Regions from separate parts of the Homo sapiens genome. Here region 1 is linked to region 2. Evidence: promoter capture Hi-C in 16 types of primary human blood cells and fetal thymus (Javierre and others, 2016). All regions are on one chromosome and are shown on one strand. The core of a region is centred on a gene start or on the middle of the fragment in contact, and the rest is flanking DNA. Distances in the headings are between cores, read along the strand shown.

The links. Contacts are between HindIII fragments. The CHiCAGO score rates a contact against its expected background, and 5 or more counts as called.
Region 1: a fragment that was not itself captured here is called in contact with the fragment with the promoter of SPON1 in region 2 in 1 of 17 cell types (M2 macrophages); the score reaches 5.8 in M2 macrophages.

The regions. Positions count from the first base shown.
Region 1 is chr11:14,211,124-14,216,139 of GRCh38, reverse strand. All of the region lies in intron 6 of SPON1 (spondin 1), which reads right to left. Among named protein-coding and RNA genes, the nearest start is that of RRAS2, 150 kb to the left of the region's middle. The HindIII fragment of the contact is 2,148 bases long and covers 2,042-4,189 here.
Region 2 is chr11:13,961,108-13,966,164 of GRCh38, reverse strand. It overlaps SPON1 (spondin 1), which reads right to left and starts at 3,442. Exons shown (of 16, transcript NM_006108.4): 1 at 3,023-3,442. The coding sequence starts at 3,260. It overlaps LOC124902637 (a long non-coding RNA gene), which reads right to left and starts at 3,008. Exons shown (of 2, transcript XR_007062602.1): 1 at 1,120-3,008. RefSeq lists an enhancer at 1-157. The HindIII fragment of the contact is 7,695 bases long and covers 1-4,425 here.

The DNA of each region.
Region 1 (5,016 bases), core at 1,866-4,365, 250 kb before region 2:
GGAGAAAAAGATCCAAGTGAATTTCCAATTTTCTCCAACACTTCAAACTATACATTTGATATTCTTAACCACCTTGATGAACAATTGTCCTCAATACCCATTTTCCCTACGTTCTATTTGGCAATAACTTACAGACAGGTGTGGCCATGTGACTAACATTTAGCCAATGTGATGCAAACAGAAGGGATGTGTAGAAATTTTGGATTATCTTTTACAAGGAAGCTGTTTGTCTGCAATTCTCATTTTCCCTTTCCCACCACTTGAGAAGAAGTAGTAGACAAAGCATGCTGGATCCAGATATGGGAACTTTCTGGCAGAAATAGACCACCAGCCTGTGTTGCTCACCTCTAAACTGTGATGTACAAGGGGAAATATACTTCTATCTTAAGTCGGCATATTTTTGGTCTCTTTATTACAACAGCTTAACTTATAACCTACATGTGACCCAAAGATAACTAAATTCTTGGACACTCCTCCCATTAGGAGATGGGGGTCTATGTTATCTCCCCTTGAATGTGGGGGGCTTTGTGACTGCTTTGGCCAGTTTCTGGGCCCCGGCCTTAAGACACTGGCAGCTTCCACTTTCTGCCTTTTGTAATACTGCCTTTGAGGACCCCAAGCCATCATGTAGAAAGTCTGACTCCCTGAGACCACCATGCTGAAGAGTCATGCAGACACTTCAGTTGCCAGTCCCTGCCTTCAAGATACCCCTTGAAGTTTCCAGTCATATGAATAATACCATCTCAGACCCTTTACACCAGCCCATTTGTATTTGAATACCACAAGTAACCTGGCCAATAGCACTCTGAGAAGAAGAAATAACCCAGGTCACCTAAGGAGGCAATGTGTGGAACTACTATGCTAATACTGATCTTGTGGCCATAAAGGGAGCCACTGATGACATATTACAAATGGCAGAGTGGGCTGGGTGTGGTGCATACCTGTAGTCCCAGCTACTTGGGAGGCTGAGGTGGGAGGACTGCTTTAGCCCAAGAGTTCTTGGCTGTAGTGTGCTATAATCCTGCTTGTGAATAGCCACTCCAGCCTGAATAACATGGTGAGACTCTCATCTCTTAAAAAAACAAAAACAAAAACATAAAAAAGGCAGAGTAGAAAGATGGAAATGTCTTAGTCCCTGATGACATGAATGAGCCACTCTACTAACCTTGGAATTACCTATCTCCAAACTTTTCACTTAATGAAATAGTAAAAGTCCACAAAATTTAAAGCACTGTTGGTTAGGCTTTGTGTTACTCATGGCCTCTAAGTATTCTAACAAACACATCCCCTTCATCCTCTCTCACAGGGGGAGTTTGTTACAGGGGCAAGAGGAGTTGGCTTGAGACTGTACTCTTACTTCATTAATAAATTTGCCAGTTGAAAATGGTACAATGTTCCAGTCACTCTGGCTGATTTATCCTGAGACAGTTCTCCGAGGCTCTCTTGAAATTAATGCACAGCCTCCCATTTTTCTAGCCTGATGACTGACATAGCAGTTGGAATTCCATGGCTCATCATCTCACTTGCCTTCTCTTTACCTCCTTGGTGTGTGGAACAGACAGGCCAACATGTTCATCAAGTTGGTTAAGAATATCAAATGTATAGTTTAAAGTGTTGGAGAAACCTGGAAATTCACTTGGATCTTTTTCTCCTCTTAATATCTTTGGAAAGATGCACACACAGGAAGACTCTGAACCCCATGCTAGCAGGACTGTTCTCCATTCTGGTAAGGAGCCAGCTGTGAAGGGAACCACCTATCTATGCAAGGGCATGTTTTTATTCTGAAGCATCATCTTACTTGGGGCCAGGGAGTGGAGGAGAACCTGTATTACCTACACAACTCCTGGGTGGATAACACAGGGAATTCTTCCAACGCTTCCTCATTCCAAGATTTGATCCGGCTAGGGATGGGGGCCCTACGCGCAGAGGACCAGAGCCGAGAGTTCTTTCCCCAGGACAACATGGAGTGAAAGGCTAAAACTTAAGGAAGGAAGCAAAACCAAAAACCATGTAAAAAGGACCAGATTTAAGAAGCTAAGCTTTGGAGGTCATCAAATTGAAGAGGTTCAGAGGCATGTTTGGGAGTAAGCATTTGGATGGGACAAATGCAATGAGGAATAGGAAAGTAACCATAGGTGACCTGGGAACAACATGATTGTGTGCTTGTGTGCACACATGGGTTTGATGGACTAGCTTAGAATAGTTGCTTGTGTTTGCTGACATCTGGGGCATAATACATAGGTGCATTGGCTGGCTCACCTAAAAATCTAAGAGAACACATCCTTATAAAAAAGCCTGCTTACATTTCAAGATGCAACCCAAATGCAACTTGCTCATGAAGTCCTTGCTAATCCATCCCTGGGATATGTACTTCAGTACAGCGTGGCTTATGTACTGACTTTAATATTTATTTCCATTTCCCTTGTATTATAGCTAGTCAATTATTTGGCTATTTCCTCAGCTCAACTGAAGGACTCTTGAGGCTGGAGACTGTTTCCTATTCTTACTTAATAGCATATAGCTTTGTACATAGAAAGTGCTTTGTACATAGAAAGTGCTCAATAAATATCGTTTGATTAATTACTATTGTCAACCTTTGACTTGTTTTTCTGTTGACATTTATAAATGGATTAGGAGTGTTTTTAATAGTGCATTTTTCTTTAAATGACACAATAAACACAAATCCATCGCTAAGGAGCCCAAAATAAATCTTAAGCAGGAGAGTTAAACATATTTAAGAAAAAAAAAAAAGGAATGAGAAACAAGAGAAGGATTTGGAAGCTGAACATTTCTCTCTGTCTGAGACTAGCTCCAGGCAAATGAAAGCCCTCTGATGAAAACTTCATCAGCCTTTTCTTACACAAAGTGTTTTCTGACCATTTTTTCTACAGTGTCTCTCCTATTTGGACACAGAGTTTCATTTATTAATCAAACATAATTGGGCTCCATTTCAAAAGGATGAACAAAGCTCATTTTGTTGTCCCATTGAAAAGCTGGGTTCAGTCTGGGTCATGGTGTTTGTCAGCATCTCTGTTTCCAGGCCCTAAAGGCTTGGATGCAGGCACAGGACAACTGGGGGCCTGGTCAATTTCCCACTCTCAGAAGCCCTTAAAAGAGTCTCTCCCAAGCTCTGGAGACTGTGTTTACTGACTATGAATATAAGGACTACACTTCCACATTTTGCTTGGCAAGAAGAGTCTAGATGGCCTCTTGTCAATTCTGTCATTTCTCACAGCATAGACCCATCTTTTGATGATCCACCCACAAATGATGCTCAGACATTCGATTATCAGAGTTGGTACTCTTTCCTTCAGTGGCTCCCCATTGCTTATATGTTGCTTCTGAAAATACTGGAAAGACTATGAAAAATAGACAACCCATGCAAATATAATTAAAGAACAGCAAAAAAGGAGACAAACAGCATTAGGAAAGAGAACAGTGTAATATCTTCTACTTAGTGAGGACAGGCACTGTGCTAAGAACTTCATATACATCATCTGTAATCCTCACAGCAATCCTATACTCTAAGTAATATGACCCCTATTTATAGGGAAATGATGATAGAAGTCAAGTTACTTGGTTAAAGTCACATGAATCAGTGGTGGAACCTGGATGAGAATTCAGGTCTGACTCAATATATTCAGTAGCAAAAGGAATTAAACCACTTATATGGAATACTATGTCTAATTATATGCTAACTGACTGAAAACCTGAACAAATGGATGATATTTTATAATAAACATATATGATTTTAATTCAATCTTATATTTAAAAATGACGCAATGAGGTAGGAAACCCTATTAAAGCAGTAATGGAGGTAGAAATTTTTTAAAAATTCAGAATATCCCCAAAAAGCAAGGCATACAGATCTAATGGATTCCTCCAAGCTCACAAGGAACAGATAATTCCCAAGCTATGCTGACTGCATCAAAGCACAGACAAGGCCGGACTCCATCTAATTATTCTGTGTGACAAATTTGATCTTAAGGAAGGTTACTAAAGAAATGCAAAAAAAAAAAATCAATAAAAGACTAACATTATATTAACATTAGATGACATAATCTATTTCAATATATGTCAAAAGAAAAATTGATAAAACCTTTACTTGGAGTGATACTATTTACTACCTTAACTTGATAAAGATACCTATTTTAAATAATGAATCAATAATGGATTAAGATTAAAAGCTTTTTTTTTCAAAAATTGGCCCCTGAAAATAATATAGCTACTATTATAACATAATATTGCTTTAGACAAACTGCAAAAGACTTAAAGGACAATAATTACTGGGAAAGAAGAAAAAATATTTACAAAGAATTTGCTGTACACCTGGAACTAAATCAACCAGTTTAGAAAGAGGACAGTTTGGTATTAAAATTCAAAGGTCAGTAGCATTACTATGCCCAATATATTACTATACACCATGTTTTCATATATACTACATTACTATATACATTATTATACACAAGCAGTAAACCCCTAGAAAACTACACGTATAATAATATAAGAATATAAGATGCTAATTCTGTGAAGAAAGTCAGTGGTAGCTTGATGGGGATAGCACTGAATCTACAAATTACTTTGGGCAGTATGGCCATTTTCATGATATTGATTCTTCCTATCCATGAGCATGGAATGTTTTTCCACTTGTTTGTGTCCTCTCTTATTTCCTTGAGCAGTGGTTTGTAGTTCTCCTTGAAGAGGTCCTTCACATCCCTTGTAAGTTGTATTCCTAGGTATTTTATTCTCTTTGTAGCAATTGTGAATGGGAGTTCGCTCATGATTTGGCTTTCTGTTTGTCTGTTATTGGTGTACAGGAATGCTTGTGATTTTTGCACACTGATTTTGTATCCTGAGACTTTGCTGAAGTTGCTTCTCAGTTTAAGGAGATTTTGGGCTGAGACGATGGGGTTTTCTAAATACACAATCATGTCATCTGCAAACACAGACAATTTGACTTCCTCTTTTCCTAGTTGAATACCCTTTATTTCTTTCTCTTGCCTGATTGCCCTGGCC
Region 2 (5,057 bases), core at 2,193-4,692:
GAAAGAAAAGGAAATCAATATAATACTAACAACTTGGAAAAGACAAAATAATGATCTCAACTGGATTCAGGTTTTGGGGAAGAAACTCCATGTTTCAGTCTTTTTTAATAGTGACCATTTTATTCCGGTCTAGAGTACCTAAAGACTGTACTTAGACAGCAGGCACAAAGAACAGAAGCTGCTTGGGGATGAACTGGAATACTGTGGACAAAGATTTGAGGCAGGAAAACAAGTCATTGATTCCAAGGATTGTGAGGAATCCTAATTCATGAAAAAATTAAAAAGCAAATAGAACACCAGGGGAATGCCAGCTTCACAGCCTTAAGTCAGGACAATGAGCAGAATGTGTTTGAGTTACTTTTAACATAATTATTCTAAGAAAGAAGGAGCCAACAGAAAATGTCACAAACTAGGCCAGTACCTTTTCTTTCGGACTTTGAGTGGCAGAATCAGGTTTGCTAATTGCAGGATATTTACTTGGAAAACCTCAGCATGGTTCCTGCAAGATCTCTTCCAAGGTCTTTTAGCCATAAGAAGGGAGAAAAGATGATTGCCCAATCTATAGCCTGAGTTGGGGTGTCAAAGTCCAGATGGCTGTTTAGGCAGGAGTAGCCTGTAGGGTGAAAGTCCAGGACACTCCCTATCCAGTCCCAGTTCCCCACCTGCTGGCCCTGGACGTTTAGGTAGTTCTGAAACCTCTTTGGCCCCGTGAATACCAGCTGTATCTCCTTCCCAGTGCTAGGGCCACCAGCTGCCAATGCTCAACTAAAACACGGAGGATTAGTGTGAAAAGAGACGCTGGGTACACTTGGCCTGAACCTCAGACTAGTCTAAGTCACTGAAAAAATCTTCCTGGGCTTGCATTAGCAACAGTCTTAGGCAAGGCTCCTGATATGAAAAAATACCTCATTCATTCATTCAATTAATTCATGAGGACCCAAATAACCACTGGTAGATGAATGGGACTGGAGGAGAGCTGAGGAAACCTGCTTTCAAACGCACAACACTCTTCAAAAACAAAAATCTGATCAAGAACCTACCTCCATTAGTAAACCAATAAAGGCCTCACATTCAACTGTTAGGCTTATTAGGAATCTCTTTTAGCTCAGGCACACTCACCTTTGTAAACTCATTTACTCCCTACCACCAAGAGAGGGTGGATAAACAGCTTTTTTTTTTTTCCAGCTAGGAAATAGGTGCAGAGAAATTAAATGACTTGCACAAGGTCACACAGCGAGTAAACCCAAGTCTGTTGGACTCCAGAGCCACTTCTTTCTCTGCTACGTGGAGCGGGGACAGTTTCCCCTGTGAACTCAGGTCCTCAGTTTTGGGGAGGGCCGAATAGGCCACTGAAGTCATACCCGCTTCCCTGCGGTCCACAGGGAGGATCGGCCGCCTCCCGGCTGCACCGAGTGGCAGTCGCCGCCCGTCGGCGCGGCTCGCTCTAGCCGCGGTGCCAAGCCGCGCGCTCCCTCCCGGGCTGGGCGGGGTGTTCTCCGCCCAGAATCTTTCTTCGTGGAGTACCCAGGATCCCGCGGAGCTGCGCGCCGGGGTCAGACTGTTCCTCGCAAAGTGCTCAGCACGCCAAGGTGCCAAGGGCACCAAGGAGCCGGCTTTGGGTAGCTCCGGGTGGAGAAAGTCGGGGACACAAACCCGGGAAAGGGGGAAAAGCGCTCCAAGAAGGGTGGCCCCTGGCTTTGGTCTCCGGCGTGACCCTGGCGCCCGCTGACGCTGCCCCAGACTTTCTCCTGTGTTGCTCCCACCGCTTCCGTCCAAGGCTCTCTGGGGAACTGGGAAGGCGAGGAGGAAAGTACAGCAGCTGGGAGCCCATTTGCCCCACCAGGTGCCCCAGTGACCCGCTCATCCCTGCTTAGCACCAGAGCTGACTTATGAAGGGGCGAGGGTGAGAGGACACGCTCCCTGGCGGGAGCTAAGGTGAGGCCAGACAGGCTCGCTTCCCTTCCTGGTTACCTGTCCCCCACCCGGAGAGCGGCTGCTGCTGCACGGGGAAACGATGTCTGGGGAGATGACCCTGCTGAGGAGCGAGGTGGCGGGCGTGGGGACAGAGTCAGGCGTCTTCAGATCGGTGCTGGTCGAACTGCCTGTCCCGCCTAGGAGGCTCTCACCTGCTTGGACACCTCCTCCCTGAGCTCCCGAAACCCCACTCTCAGCCGAGCGGCGTAGGCGCGACATCCCTGGGACGTGGAGACTCCGAGCTGCCGGAGCCAAGGTTCCCCGGCCTCCAGGGAGCAGGCCTCGGGCATCGGGGCTTCTCTTTCCATCTTCATCCAATTCCCCTTGCAGCTCGGAGCTTACCCCAAGCTCTTTGAGGACCCTGTCCCCACTGGGAACCTGTTCTGGAAACCCAAGATACTCTATCTCGTCTGGGACCACGAGAGAATAATTTGGGGTTCTTTCCAAGGACCCTTTCGAGGAGCTTTAGGCTGTCCCTGCCCCTCCTTCCCGCACCCCGGGACCGGTTAGGGAGAAGCCAAAGTCCCTTCTCCTGAAGGGACCTATCCAGGGAAGCCGGAGTGGCTGTCCCGCCCAGGGCCAGTCTTTGAGAATCGGGTACCCTCTCCTTCAGGGACTGAGCGGGGAAAGCTGGAGTGGCTGCCTTGCCCGGGACCCGACCAAGAGAAGCCTGGGTCCCCTCCAGACCGATTTGGAGAAAGGCAGTTTTACTTCCCTCCTGCAGACGGCCGGGGGAGAAGCGAGCCTCCCTTGCAGTCAGGCCGGCGTGACGTGTGGCTCAGTTACATCCTCCGCCTGGGAACCGCGCGTCGGAAACGCGGGGTGCCTCTCCTGGCTGCGGCCCCCGCGACGGCCCGGGACGCTGGATTATGATCCGCGCCGAGCTCGCGACTGCAAGGGCCGAGGGCAGCCAGGACAGAAGGGCCCTTGCCGGGCTGCACCCGCGCCACGCGCCCGGAGACCGCGCGCCCTCCTCCGGCACCGCGAGGTCGGCGCCCTCCGGGGACCGGGTCCCGCTCTCCTAATGCCACGCCGGGCGGCCACTTACCGCGGTAGCTGGTTCCCGGCTTGTAGAAGTCGGGGTCGCCCTCCACGCGGAGGCTGAACTCGGTGTAGCCCTCGCGCCGCGTGCCCTGGGCGCGCAGGATACGGCTGCAGTAGCCCTCTGACTTGGGCACTTTGTCCAGGGTCTCGTCGGAGAAGGCCAGCGCCGCGGCCAGGGGCAGCGCCAGGGCCAGCAGTGCCGGAGTCCGGCTCAGCTTCAGGGGCGCCGGGGACAGCCTCATCTTCGCGGCCCCCAACTTTGTGCCGCGGCCGCAGGCCTTCGCCACGCGACTCCTGCCCGAAGTGGTCCCGACGAAGGCGCGACCTGGCGGAGGCGCGGCGGAGAGAGGGAGCTCGGAGCTGGCGTCCGCGACTCGGAGACCGTGCCCGCCTCGGCTTGGCGGCCGCGGAGCTGCGCTGAGCTGAGCTGAGCTGAGCCAAGCGAACGAGAGCAGCGCGAGGAGGGGAGGGCCGCGGCGAAGGAGCGGGAGGAGGGAGGGCTGATTTTGCCCAGATCCCCCAGCGCAGCGCTGTTTTGTTTCCTCCGAACTGGCGATTAGCGGCGCGGCCGTGTTTATTTTGCGACGTTGGATTCCCAGGGTCTGACGAAGAAACCGTGGCATACCGGACCCTGTGGGCTCTGTCCCATCGCCTAGGAGGCTGCTGCTCCAACCCCCAGCTACACTCCGGACCCTCTGGAGGACGGCGCTCAGAGGAGGGAAAGCCTGAGAAATAACTTTTGTTGCACACCTGCTCTGTGCCTAGCAATATGCTTGGCGGCTTACTTACTGTATCGACTCGCCTTCATGTTCCCTACTCCCAATAAAGATTACATTACTTTCGCTCACTTTATAGATGAGCAAACTGTGACTTGCGACCAGTTACAGCAGGGTTAGATGCGGCGACTCCGGGCCCATTGCTCTTCCCAAGGCCATAGTGGAACATGTCAGACTGGAGGCTGAGAAAGGAGAAACGACTTAGCTACAGCGCTTAGGGCCCACGATACTTTTGGAGATCTATGAAAATGTTTTCTGTAAAAATCAGAAGAAAAAATTTATGTCAAACAAAATGTTTTACTATATAATGTTAATATATTTGTATTTATACCTCCACAGTCATAAAATATGCTTGACTTGGAGGAAAGAGCCAGCAAAGGCAAAAGTGCCTAAGGCTCAGGAAGGTCCTCCTACAGCCCAGGAAAGGAGTTTCCAAAGATTCAATGAAGAGCCTGTGTTTTCTTGGCTTACATTTTAGTTCAGATTCTCACTCCCCAGGGACAGATGTTCAGAGAGGTGCTGAGCCTGAGGGCCTGAAGGGAAAAGACCTGGGGCAAGAATCTCTCCCAGTGTCTCTCTGGGAAGAGACCCGAATCAAACCTCAGTCCTGCCACTCACCCATTGTGAAGCTTGGGCTAGTTATCGCACTCTCCAAGCTTGTTTCCTGCTCTGGAGAACAAGGAAGTGGGGGTGGGTGCCAGTACATCCTTCTTAGAGGTAGTGGGGTGATATGCTAGAAGTAAATGATATGACCCATATAAAACACTCTAGTTGGTCTCTAGTGGCGCCTGCTCCCTCACCCGCTTGGGGATACCATAAGCCCCCTGCCTCTCAGTGCACACAAACATCCCTCCCCAGGTGCCCTCAGAAGCTTTGGTTTCCTCGTCTTCTCTTTGCCCAGGGCCTTCGACACACCTCAAGTGCCTACAATTAGCAAGCAATCTCCTTTGCTTTCCAGGTCAGGGTTTTCTCTTTCATAATGCTACAAACAGGCCCAGGGCGCTAGGTGCATGGGAGATCTCCATTCCTCCCTGCCTGCCCACTTACTCCTTAGTGCTTGTGCTGGAATTCCCACTGCCACTATTAACTGGACGCCTTCTCTCAGAGGTCACCTGAAAGTAACCCCTTGCTGAAGCCAATTATGCTCTTCTCTCATCCCTAGCCCTTCTTGACCCTAGCAGCACCTGATCCAGCTGATCGGCCCTCCTTTTTGAGGTGAGGCTCAGATCCATGTCTGAGTGCTGAGGGAATTGTCTGCATCTT